Linked DNA regions of Homo sapiens: region 2 is linked to region 1. The links are contacts of gene promoters, found by promoter capture Hi-C in human tissues and cell types (Jung and others, 2019). All regions are on one chromosome and are shown on one strand. The core of a region is centred on a gene start or on the middle of the fragment in contact, and the rest is flanking DNA. Distances in the headings are between cores, read along the strand shown. Region 1 holds the start of PMEL (premelanosome protein). Region 2 overlaps STAT2 (signal transducer and activator of transcription 2).

Region 1 (6,365 bases), core at 3,813-6,312:
GATCACAAGGTCAGGAGATGGAGACTATACTGGCTAACACGGTGAAACCCTGTCTCTACTAAAAATACAAAAAAAATTAGCCGGTCATGGTGGCAGGCGCCTGTAGTCCCAGCTACTCGGGAGGCTGAGGCAGGAGAATGGCGTGAACCCGGGAGGCAGAGCTTGCAGTGAGCCGAGATTGCGCCACTGCACTCCAGCCTGGGCGACAGAGCGAGACTCCGTCTCAAAAAAGAAAAAAAAAAAAAAGTAGAGAAGGAAGGGGCATTCCCTGAGCTCACTGGGCATACCAGGGAACCTGAGCCCTAGGAATAAGGACCTAGAATAGAGAAGTACTCACCATTGATGATGGTATTGTTGACCCAGATAACCTGCCCATCTGGCAATACCTTTTGGCTTCCAGGGAAGTTCAAGGCAATAGAGAAGGAGGCATTTGCACCAATCAGTGTAGGCCCATCATTACTGACCTTGAGGGACACTTGACCACCTGGGAAGGAAAGCTACATTAGCTGGGACTCCTGGGCTTCCCCTCCCTGTATACGTTTCCCCTCCTTTTCTTCCCAAGCTACACTCGATGCAGTTCAGCTTGCTTTTTTCCTCATCCCACTCCCACCATGCCCTCCCCTGGAACTTCCAAGTTCCTACCTCTCCAGCAGTCAAGTCTCTGGGCTTCTGTCCACTCTGGATACAGCTGCCTGTTCCAGGCTTTGGTTCTGAGTTGCCTTGAGACACCAAGCCAGTCCTGGTTTCTGGGTACTAAAAGGAATGTGCCATGAAGGGCCCTAGGATCCTTTCAGTTCCTTCTCAGGGATAACACTCTATTCATGTCACTCCATTCATTCTCACATTCGAAGTGCATTTTTTTTTTTTTTTTTTTGAGATGGAGTTTCGCTCTTGTTGCCCAGGCTGGAGTGCAATGGCATGATCTCGGCTCATTGCAACCTCTGTCTCCTGGGTTCAAGCGATTCTCCTGCCTCAGCCTCCTGAGTAGCTGGGATTACAGGCATGTGCCACCATGCCAGGCTAATTTTGTATTTTTAGTAGAGATGGGGTTTCTCCATGTTGGTTGGTCTGGTCTCGAACTCCCGACCTTAGGTGATCTGCCTGCTTTGGCCTCCCAAAGTGCTGGGATTACAGGCGTGAGCCACTGCGCCCGGCTGAAGTGCATTTTTAAAACTCATTTATTTGGCCGGGTGTGGTGGCTCACACCTGTAATCCCAGTACTTTGGGAGGCTGAGGCGGGTGGATCATGAGGTCAAGAGATAGAGACCATCCTGGCCAACATGGGGAAACCCTGTCTCTACTAAAAATACAAAATTAGCCGGGCATGGTGGTGCGCACCTGTAGTTCCAGCTACTTGGGAGGCTGAGGCAGGAGAATTGCTTGAACCCGGGAGGCAGAGGTTGCAGTGAGCTGAGATTCTGAGATTGCACCAGTGTACTCCAGCTGGCGATAGAGTAAGACTCCATCTCAAAAAAAAAAAAAAAAAAAAAAACACAAAAAACCCCTTATTTATTTGTTTATTTATTTATTATTACTCTTTTTTTTTTTTTTTTTTTTTTTTTGAGATGGAGTCTCGCTCTGCCCCCTAGGCTGGAATGCAGTGGCGTGATCTTGGCTCACTATAGCCTCCGCTTCCTGGATTCAAGCAATTCTCGTTCCTCAGCCTCCCAAGTAGCTGGGACTACAGGCACCCACCACCACACCCAACTAATTTTTGTATTTTTAGTTTCGCCATGTTTCATGGTTTCTCCATGTTGGCCAGGTTTGTCTCAAACTCCTGACCTCAAGTGATCCAACCGCTTCGGCCTCCCAAAGTGCTGGGATTATAGGCGTGAGCCACTGCGCCTCGCCTGTTTTGTTTTAAATCAAGACATAATTCACATACCATAAAATTTACTTTTAGCCAGGCATGGTGGCTCACATCTGTAATCCCAGCACTTTGAGAGGCCGAGGCAGGTGGATCACAAGGTCAGGAGTTCGAGACCAGCCTGGCCAAGTGAAACCCTGTCTCTACTAAAAATACAAAAATTAGCCGGGCGTGGTAGTGGGCACCTGTAGTTCCAGCTACTCAGGGGGCTGAGGCAGGAGAATTGCTTGAACCCAGGAGGCGGAGGTGGCAGTGAGCCGAGATCACACCACTGCACTCCAGCCTGGGCTACAGAGCAAGACTCCGTCTCAAAAAAAAAAAAAAATTTACTTTTGAACATGATCAAATTTGTGTTTTAGAAAGATCACGATGGCAAGCAGTGAGGAGGATGGATTAGAGGCTGGCAGAGATTGGGGATGGGGACAGGGAAGACAAAATTATTGTAACTGACCAAGAGAGGTCTGAGAAGAAAAGGATATGCTGGACCTCCATCTGCCCCACCCAGGTCCAACAACTATCAACACCTTGCCACATTTGCTTTGTTTATCCTTACTAGTTGTTGTTTTTGTTTTTGTTTTGGCTAAAGTATGTAAAAGCAAATCCCAGACATCGTGTTATTTTAACCCTACAAATTTAAAATGTATGAGTATTTTCTTGCATAAGCACAATGTCATTTCATGCTAGACAAAATTATCAAACTCAGTCCATATAAAATTTCATGAATATCTGGAAAAATGTCTTATGATTTTTAAAATCAGGATCCAAAATATAAGTACAGTCTTTTTGTTAAGAGCCTTAGGTGGGTGGGTGTGAACAGACTCTTTCCAGGATACATTAAGGAATATAGTAAAAGAAAAAGACTTGAAACTGCAGCACAGCGAGGAAAGTCACATCAAGGAGAACTTCCTAGAAATCTGTGACACTAAACATCTAGGGAGAAAGCAGGGCTGGGATATAATGTATGTATTTCAGCACAGCAGAAACTACCCTCACCCCATTTTTCCCTTTCCTGCAGAAACCTCTCTCCCCTCCCCTTCCCTCCCCTCTCCTCTCCTTTCTGTATATAGTTCAGCACAGCAAAAACTACCCTCACCCCATTTTTCCCTTTCCTGCAGAAACTTCCTTCCCTTTCCTTTCCCTTTCCCCTTTCCTTTCCTTTTGATACAGGGTTTTGCTCTCTCACCCTGCGTGCAGTGGCACGTTCATCACTCACTGCAGCCTCAAACTCCTAGGCTGAAGCCATCTTCCTCATTAGCCTCCCAAGTGGCTAGGACCACAGGTGCTCACCACCAAGCCTGGCTAATTTTTTTTTTTTTTTTTTTTGAGACAGAGTTTCGCTCTTGTTGCCCAGGCTGGAAGGCTGGAGTACAATGGCACGATCTCAGCTTACTACAACCTCCGCCTCCCGGGTTCAAGCGATTCTCCTGCCTCAGCCTCCTGAGTGGCTGGGATTACAGGCATGCACCACCACGCCCAGCTAATTTTGTATTTTTAGTAGAGACTGGGTTTCTCTATGTTGGTCAGGCTGGTCTCAAACTCCCAACTTCAGCTGATCCACCTGCCTTGGTCTCGCAAAGTGCTGGGATTACAGGCGTGAGCCACCAAGCCTGGCCTAGGCCTGGCTAATTTTTTTACGTTTCGTAGAGACAAGGTCTCACTATGTTGCTCAGGCTGGTCTTGAACTCCTGGGCTCAAGCAATCCTATGACCACGGCCTCCCAAAGTGCTGGGATTACAGGTGTGAGCCACTACACCCGGCCTCCTTATCTCTTTTCTTTTCTTTTCTTTTTTTATTTTTTTGAGACAGAGTCTTGCTGTTGCCCAGGCTGGAATGCAATGGTGTGATCTCGGCTCACTGCAACCTCTGCCTCCCAGGTTCAAGCGATTCTCATGCCTCGGCCTCCCAAGTAGTTGGGATTACAGGTGCGTACCACCATGCCCAGCTAATTTTTGTATTTTTAGTAGAGATGGAGTTTCACCATATTGGCCAGGCTGGTCTGACCTCAAGTGATCCACCCGTCTCAGCCTCTCAAAGTGCTAGGATTACAGGCATGAGTTACTGTGCCGGGCCTCATCCCCTTTCTTTTTTTTTTTTTTTTTGAGACGGAGACTCGCTCTGTCACCCAGGCTGGAGTGCATTGGTGTGATCTTGGCTCACTGCAACCTCTGCCTTCTGGGTTCAAGTGATTCTCCAGCCTCAGCCTTCTGAGTAGCTGGGACTACAGGCATGTGCCACCATGCCCAGCTAATTTTTGTACTTTTAGTAGAGACGGGGGTTTCACCATATTGGCCAGGCTGGTCTCGAACTCCTGACCTCGTGATCCACCTGCTTCAGCCTCCCAAAGTGCTGGGATTACAGGCGTGAGCCACGGCGCCCGGCCTCATTCCCTTTCTAATGTGTGCTGTAACCCTAGTTGATTCTGCTGGGGGAGGATCTGGAATCATCTATTGAGCATCCCACCACTAGAACAAGAGAAGTCATAAGATACCCCATTCTTTCTCCACTTCCAACTCTCCTCAGAGCAGCACGGGACATTCCAGACCCTCTCACCACCCCACCCCCGCCCCTTGCTCCTGTCACGAGGCCCAATCCCCCAGAGCCCTTTCATGTGATGCTCAGCTGAGACCCCTCTGCCTATCTCTCCAGCCCCAGAACAAAAGGTCTGGGCTGTGTTCACCCGTACCCATCCCAAGAGGAGAGGATTGTATCTCCTTAGTGTTCTTACCCAATACCACATTCTCTGACTCCCCACTTTAAATCTCCTACCCCAAGAGACGTTTCCTAAAAGAGTCTCCTGCACATTTCACCCCTTTGGAGCCCGTGCTCCAGCTCACTGCCAAGGAAGCCTCAGAATCAGTGCCACAGAGACCTTCTATCCTTCTGCCCCTCCAAGCATATGAGATTATTTTCAGGCAAAATCCCAAATCTCCATGTAGGGAGGGAGCCCAGGTGCCCACATCCTCACTAAATCAAATGAGTGGGAGACGCCTGAAATATTGCCGCTATCTCCCATTAGGAGGACAGAAACCAGAGCAGGGGGAATTCATCCCCAAGTTCACACCTGCTCATGTCCACATATCCACACATACCTTTTGTAGCCCCCACAGCCAGCAAAGCACCTATCACAGCCAAATGAAGAAGGCATCTTTTTAGCACCAGATCCATTGTGTTCTTCCCTCCAGCAACCAAAGGCACTGGGGGGACTGGGATAGGCCCCTATATAAGAAAAGGGTGCTCATTTGCATAGCCCTTCCTCTTCTCCCTCAGAGAAGGCCTGGGAGGGGCCGGAGGAGAGGAAAAAGGAAAAACTGACAAAGGGATCCTGGTCCCTAGACATTGCTTTCCCATCCTGCTACTCAATGACAGTTTCTGGTTTCACTGGGTCACTCTCATCTTGATGCACTCCCGGGCAAGAGCTAACTGAAAGGCAGCTGCGTAACACATACCAGACACAACAGTTTATCATGGGAGAGTGAATTAAACCAGGAACTTCTCAAAAAGACAGAAACAGAACCCTGCATCCCAAAACAGAGACAGTGTCGGGGTATGCTATGAGGCAGAGGCAACGACTCCTCTGAGGCCCAGGATTCCTTTGCAACGAGATTCCCGGCTTCCTGGTTTCCAAAGGAGGCTCCTGGGCCAGGTGGAATTTAACCTTAGGTCGATACATATTTTCCCCAGGATTGGTGAAAATAGTGAGTTAGAAATCAAGAAATCCCTACAGACTAGAGACATAGGTAGGAAACTTGGACCCAAAGCAGGTACTTGGGAAGAGTGTTCAGCCGCCCCACCGGGGAAGAAACTTGTCTAGCCCCCAAGAACCAAACTTGCCTGGGGCGGGATCATTTGCGGGGAGGAGCGCTGGGCTCGCCCCCCGGCTCTGACGTTGACCAATAGAAAGGCCTGGGGGCGGAGCCAGGGAAACGCGGGAAGCAGGGGCGGGGCCTCTGGTGGCGGTCGGGAACTCGGTGGGAGGCGGCAACATTGTTTCAAGTTGGCCAAATTGACAAGAGCGAGAGGTATACTGCGTTCCATCCCGACCCGGGGCCACGGTACTGGGCCCTGTTTCCCCCTCCTCGGCCCCCGAGAGCCAGGGTCCGCCTTCTGCAGGGTTCCCAGGCCCCCGCTCCAGGGCCGGGCTGACCCGACTCGCTGGCGCTTCATGGAGAACTTCCAAAAGGTGGAAAAGATCGGAGAGGGCACGTACGGAGTTGTGTACAAAGCCAGAAACAAGTTGACGGGAGAGGTGGTGGCGCTTAAGAAAATCCGCCTGGACACGTGAGTGGCCTCTGTACCCGGGACTCCTAACTGGGGACCTCCTTGATTGTCCCCCCCAACCCCCCACGGGCGGGTAGCCGTCCAGGGACCGGAAGAGAGCAGGGAGGGACTTCTTTAGAAGTGGAGAGGTGGGTTGGGGGCCAGTAGAAGGTGAAGAGTATACTTATACTCCCTGGGGAGAGTATAGGGTGGTGTGGAATCCATGGAAAACTTTCTTCCC
Region 2 (6,792 bases), core at 3,090-5,589, 390 kb after region 1:
ATGAAAATCAAAGCTATTTTCACATATAAAACTGCTAATAGATTTAACATAACAGTTTTCATATGCTATGTACAACTTATATTAAGCCCTTTCCACATATTAATGCATTTAATCCTCAAAACAACCCTCTGAGGCAGGTACTATTATTTTCCCCACATTACAGATGATAAAACTGAGGCACAGAAAGGTTAAGTGACTTGCTTAAGGTCATACAACTAGTAAGGGATGAAGCTTGTATGTGATCCCAGGCAGTCTCATTGTACAACTCACACTTTGTTTTTTTTTTTTAGACAGTCTCACTCTCTTGTCATCCAGGCTGGAGTGCAATGGTGTGATCTTGGCTCACTGCAACCTCCACCTCCTGGATTCAAGAGATTCTCCTGCCTTGGCCTCCCGAGTAGCTGGGATTACAGGTATGTGCCACCACGCCCGGCTAACTTATATATATATATTTTTAGTAGAGACGGGGTTTTGCCATGTTGGCCAAGCTGGTCTTGAACTCCTGACCTCAGGTGATCCGCCCACCTTGGCCTCCCAAAGTGCTGGGATTACAGGTGTGAGCCACTGCACCCAGCCCCAACTCACATTTTTAACTACTGTACTTTACTGTCTCTATAATTAAAAATAATAATAATCAGCAATGTGGTGACAGGAAAACAACCATACACTACACATGAGAAAATAGATTCGATTGGGACAACTATTCTGGGAAACATTTGTAACTATCTTTTTTTTTTTTTTTTTTTTTTGGTGGGGGTGGGGGTGGGGGTGGTTTCTGGCAAAAACCTGAAAGCCTGCTAGACAAATCCTAAAAGAGCTGTAACACTTGGAACTATCTTTTAAAAAGCCTCGCCAGCTGACATGGTGGCTCACACCTGTAATCTCAGCACTTTGGGAAGCAAAGGTGGGCAGATCACTTAAGGCCAGGCACTCCAGCCTGGGAGACAGAGAGAGACCCTGTCTCAATCAATCAATCAATCAATCAATCAATGCATGCATGCATGCATGCTGGTCCTGTACCATAAGTACTATATGCCTGTTTTTCAATCTACCTGAGCAATTGTGGTATTTTTTTAATCTACTTTTTTTTTTTTTAAGAGGTGAGGGTCTTGCTATATTGCTCAGGCTGACATCAAACTCCTGGACTCAAGCACTCTTTCTGCCTCAGCCTCCTCAGTAGCTGGGTATTATGGTATGTGTACATATATACTTTTAGAGACAGGGTCTCGTTCTGTTGTCCAGGCTGGACTACAGTGGTATAATCATGGCTCACTGCAGCCTCCAACACCTGGGCTCAAGCAATCCTCCCACCTCAGCCTCCTGAGTAGCTAGGGACTACAGGCGTGTGCCACCATGCCTAATCTTTTTTTTTTTTTTTTGAGACGGAGTCTCGCTCTGTCACCCAGGCTGGAGTACAGTGGCATGATCACAGCTCACTGCAACCTCTGCCTCCCGAGTTCAAGTGATTTTCCTGCCTTAGCCTCCTGAGTAGCTGGGAATACAGGCATGCGCCACCACACCTGGCAAATTTTTGTATTTTTAGTAGAGATGGGGTTTCACCACATTGGCCAGGCTGGTCTTGAACTCCTGACCTCAAGTGATCCACCCACCTTGGCCTCCCACAGTGCTGGCCACATGTGTGAGCCACTGTGTCCGGACATGCCTAATTAAAAAACAAATTTTTTTTTTTTGTAGAGATGGGGTCTTGTTATGTTTCCCGGGCTGGTCTCAAACCCCAAGACTGAAGTGATCCTCCTGCCTCAGCCTTCCAAAGTACTAGGATAACAGGCATGAGACGCCATGCCTGGCCTGGTATATTTCTAAAAGACTAAATTATAATAAATTTTTAAATGAGAAAATATTGAAAACAGTAGGTATTTTTCAAGTATGTTGGAGGACACACTAGTGATTTTTCTACAACACAATATAATTACCATAAAATATAGCGTTTCCTGGAAAAAGGTAACAAGAAATTGAAAATAACCTAAATAGCTGAAAATAGGAGTTCATTAATTAAATTATGTTACCACCATATAGGGGACTGTTGTGTGGACATAAGAAATAACATGGATAAATATAATATACTGTTGGCCGGGCATGGTGGCTCACGCCTGTAATCCCAGCACTTTGGGAGCCCAAGTTGGGTGGATCACCTGAAGTCAGGAGTTTGAGACCAGCCTGGCCAACATGGAGAAACATCGTCTCTACTAAAAATACAAAAAAACTAGCCAGGCATGGTGGTGTGTGCCTGTAATCCCAGCAACTCGGGAGGCTGAGACAGGAGAATTGCTTGAACCTGGGAGTTGGAAGTTGCAGTGAGCTGAGATCGTGCCACTGCGCTCCAGCCTGGGCAACAGAGAGAGACTCCGTCTCAAAAAAAAAAAAAAAAAAAAAATATATATATATATATATATATATAAAAAATACTGTTAAGCTTAAAAAAAACCCCATGGATTTCAAAATAGTATGGACAATATGATTCCATTTTTGTTTAATAAGCTAGGTAATAGGTAATTTTCTCTTCCTCCTTCCTTCCTTCCTTTCTTGTCATTGTATTCGTTGCAGTAAAAAAAAAAATACATATATATATATTTCTGGGTGATTAAAAAAGAAGGAAAAACCAGATTGTGGGTTAATTCATTCCTTTCCCTGAAGGAGACTGGGCTCTGGGCTCCCTGCGTGGTGAGGATGAGGAGCAGAATAGAGCTGCAGTCAGCAGGGAGCAGGGCTCATTCTGGGGAGCAGAGACAAATAGAGAACAGTATCTCTTGCTATATGCAGGGCACTGCAACTTACAAATCACAGCGCATGGCGAGGACGAGGGTTGGGGTGGTACCTCTCACCATGTCTCCAGCTGTTCCAACCCGTGGTCAATGGGAGCTCTGATGCAGGCTTTTTGCTGCTGGGCCTTCCACTCCTCCAACTTTGGCAGCAGTAGCTCGATTAGGGTAGTTAATCGGCCTAGCAGTGCTTTGGAGGCATCCAGCACCTCCTGGGAAAGAGATAATGTGAGTGTTGAGCATCTCTCCCTTTCACCCTCCACCACCCAACTGGGGATGAAGAAACAAAGAAGCCAGCGCTAGAGGACCAGGGTCCCCACATCCCTCATTTTTCCAGGTCCTTGTTGCCCACATGTTCTGTCCTCTGTCTCCCACCTTTCTCCTTTTGTCCAGTTCATTGAGAGTTTCCTGCAGAATCTTCTGCTCTTTGGTCTGATGGGGGTCCAGAGAGGGTGTCTTCCCTGGATGGTGGGAACAGGAGTCAGTCCAGGGGTTCTTTCCTCTCCTTCCTGACTGGGGTCTCAGTCAGAGTCAGGAAGGAGGAATTTTGTGGAGGAAGAAAGGGAAACCAAGCAAAGCACAGGCACCTGTGGGACCCTCAGGCAAATTCTGAATGGTCATGCTTGGACCAGACACCCCCTCAAATAAAACACTGTTAGTTTTCCATGCATTTCCTCAACATTTACTGTCTCTCAGCTGCACCTCCAGCTCAGCCTCCACAAAGCACTTCCAGCTTTGCACGGCAGCAGGACTGTAGTCAGTGGGGTGTGTCTGACAGTGACTACTGCTCATCGGAGCTTTCTCCTGTTCACTTCCAGCTCCGGCTTCTCAGCAGGCACTTATCTTTCTCCAGCCCCTCAATGTGCTTCCTACCTTTGGCCTGGATCTTATATCGGAAGCAGAAGACATCCTGCTGGTCTTTCAGTTGGCTGATGGATTTTACCAGCTTCTGCAGAGGGGAGAGGACCCCGATGAGGCTGCTTCTCAGGGAGGTGTTAGGCTGAACGCTGTCAACCCTAACTCCTACCACATCTACTAACCTCCATCATAGCCCTTAAATCCAGGATCCGGGATTCAATCTCATGTTGCTGGCTCTCCACAGGTGTTTCGAGAACTGGCTCTCCTTGTTCCTGAAAAAAGAGGCTCTGAGCACGTTTTAACTCTGGCCTTTCATGCCTTAAGTTCAGGCCTGAAATTATACCACAGGATGTCGGGGGGATCCTGTTCTGAGACAACTCCCTGAGTCCTTTCCATGGTTCCTCTCTACTTCAGGAGTTTCCAACATTACCACTGAATTGTCCTCACCAATTGGGCCCTCTGAGCCTGGATCAAAATTCTTTTTTCTTCCAGAAGGAGGTTAAAGATCATCTCAGCCAACTGGGTAGGATCCTGGGAAAAGGGCTAGAATAGGTAAACAGAAAGGATTGATCCAATTCAACCACTCTCAATGACCTATTGCCCTAGACCCTCCCCACCAATGTCCACAGTATTTCCTCCTCCTTCGGGGTTCTTAGCCCTTTGTCTTTTCACCATAGCATCCTCCCAACAGTGTCACGTATATGCAACCCTTCTCTCTGCTAGTGATTCCCCAAGTCCAGACTCTGTCCTCCTTTCCCCACATTTGTTCCCGTCTCCCTTTCCACCTCCAGGTACTATTCTATTCTCCAAACCTTACTCCTCTATGCTCAGCTCCCAGTGCTACCCCATCACTCCCAACCGTTCCAAGTACCTGAATGTCCCGGCAGAATTTCCGCAAATTGTGCTGCAGCAACAAGGACTCTGGGTCCTGGCTGCAACGGCCACACTCATAGTTCAGCTGATCCAAGAAGTGGAAGAATAGCATGGTAGCCTTGGAATCATCACTCCCAAGTGCAGCTTCCTGCCTGGGCACCAGGAATAAGAAGTATTAGTGTCTCTGCAGTGTTACTGTAGTCCTGAGGCTTTCCAACCCCTTCCTGCCATTAATGATTCCAGGATCCCGGGGGCCCAGAAGTAAGGAACCACCTTTTTCATTCCCCCAACTTCCTGAAGGCCTCACCAGTTCTGGTCTTCAATCCAGACAGCCAAGTACTGTCGAATGTCCACAGGCAGGAGGCTGTGCGAGTAAAGCTGGTGCAGCTGATCCTGAAAGGGGCTGTCAAGATTCTGCAGCATTTCCCACTGCGCCATTTGGGCTCTGCGTCAGAAGGATGAGGGTTCCCAATTGGATATTTTGCTGGACTAAATCATCCATAGTTTCATGATTGTTCATTATTACTAATTTAAAATGTTTAAATTATACAAGTAATAAAAATACAGAAAACATTAAAATATATGTTGATCCTACTGCTAATCTTGGTTCTTTCCCCTCCTCTCCAGAAGTAACCACTGCTATCAGTTTGGTGCATATTCTTCCAGGGAGTGCTACCAGTTGAGTATCTGCTATTCCAAGCATTTTGGATTTCAGATTTGTCCAGATTTTGGAATATCTGCATTACTTACCAGTCGAGCATCCCTAATCCAAAACTCTGAAATCTGAAATGGTCCAAAATCTAACTTTTTGAGCACCCACATGACACTCAAAGGAAATGCTCACTGGAGCATTTTGGAGCCAAATTTTTCAGATTAGGAATGCCTAATCTGTATTTTTTTTTTTTTTTTTTTTTTTTTTTTAAGATGGACTCTCACTCTTTTGCCTGGGCCGGAGTGAAGTGGCATGATCTTGGCTCATTGCAACCACCATCCCCCTGGTTCAAGTGATTCTTCTGCCTCAGCCTCCTGAGTAGCTGGGATTACAGGCACCCACCACCACGCCCAGCTAATTTTTGTATATTTTTTAGTAGAGATGGGGTTTTGCCATGTTGGCCAGGCTGGTCTCAAACTCCTGACCTCAGGTGATCCACCTACTTCGGACTCCCAAAGTACTAGGATTACAGGCATGAGCCACTGTGGTCCCAACCTGTATTTTTTTTTTCTTCAGATGGAGTCTCGATCTGTTGCCCAGGCTGGAGTGCAGTGGTGTGATTTTGGCTCACTGCAAGCTCCGCCTCCCGGGCTCATGCCATTCTCCTGCCTCAGCCTCCCGAGTAGCTGGGACTATAGGCTCCCGCCACCATGCCCGGCTGATTTTTTTTTTTGTATTTTTAGTAGAGATGGGGTTTCACCGTGTTAGCCAGGATGGTCTCGATCTCCTGAACTCGTGATCTGCCTACCTCGGCCTTCCAAAGTGCTGGGATTACAGGCGTGAGCCGCTGTGCCCAGCCGGCCCCAACCTGTATTTTAATAGCTTCAATAAGTGGGCCTTTGTGCTTTAATGGGAATTTTCTTTCTTTTTTTTTTTTTTTTTTTGAGACAGGGTCTCACTTGGTCACCCAGGCTGGAGTGCAGTGGCATGATCTTGGCTCACTGCAGCTTTGACCTCTCAGGTTCAAGCCATTCTCTGCCTCAGCCCCTCAAGGAGCTGGGACTACAGGAGTGTGCCATCATGCCAGCTAATTTTTTGTAGAGATGGGATTTTGCCATGTTGCCCAGGCAGATCTCAAACTCCTGAGCTCAAGTAATCCGCCTGCCTCAGCCTTCCAAAATGCCGGGATTAACAGGCATGAGCCACCATAACCAGCCTAATGGTAATTTTCAAATACACACTAGAGTAGAGTGAATAGTACAAGGATCACCATCCAGCTTTAACAAACATTACTATTTCCACAATCTTATTTCATCTATCTCCCTAATTCATTTATTTTGCATTTATGTGTGTGTTTGTTATTTATATTTGATTGTGCTAAAGCATTTAAAGATCAGTGTTGATGTTAAGTATTTATTACAGCATGATCCCTGCTGGCTCTGAAGCTTTTTTTTTTCTTTTTTTTTTTTTCTTTTTTTGAGATGGAGTCTTGCTCTGTCACCCAGGCTGGAGTGCAGTGACACGATCTCGGCTCACTGCAAACTCTGCCTCCCGAGTTGAAGGGATTCTCCTGCCTCAGCCTCCCGACTAGCTGGGATTACAGGCGCCCACTACCATGCCCAGCTAATT

What was found. The method cuts DNA at HindIII sites, captures the fragments that hold promoters and counts their contacts. A contact is called where the count stands out against the background at its distance.
Region 2: a fragment that was not itself captured here is called in contact with the fragment with the promoter of PMEL in region 1 in 1 of the 25 tissues and cell types used here (hippocampus).

The regions. Positions count from the first base shown.
Region 1 is chr12:55,960,980-55,967,344 of GRCh38, forward strand. It overlaps PMEL (premelanosome protein), which reads right to left and starts at 5,063. Exons shown (of 11, transcript NM_001384361.1): 1 at 4,957-5,063; 2 at 643-753; 3 at 338-484. The coding sequence starts at 5,032. It overlaps CDK2 (cyclin dependent kinase 2), which reads left to right and starts at 5,851. Exons shown (of 7, transcript NM_001798.5): 1 at 5,851-6,145. The coding sequence starts at 6,030. RefSeq lists enhancers at 1-52, 5,542-5,621. The HindIII fragment of the contact is 17,930 bases long and covers 1-6,365 here.
Region 2 is chr12:56,351,623-56,358,414 of GRCh38, forward strand. STAT2 (signal transducer and activator of transcription 2) reads right to left here. Exons shown (of 24, transcript NM_005419.4): 2 at 4,819-4,956; 3 at 4,510-4,663; 4 at 4,086-4,181; 5 at 3,821-3,910; 6 at 3,654-3,729; 7 at 3,156-3,241; 8 at 2,844-2,992. The coding sequence starts at 4,949. It also overlaps the pseudogene RNU7-40P. Among named protein-coding and RNA genes, the nearest start is that of STAT2, 5.1 kb to the right of the region's middle. The HindIII fragment of the contact is 6,015 bases long and covers 1,333-6,792 here.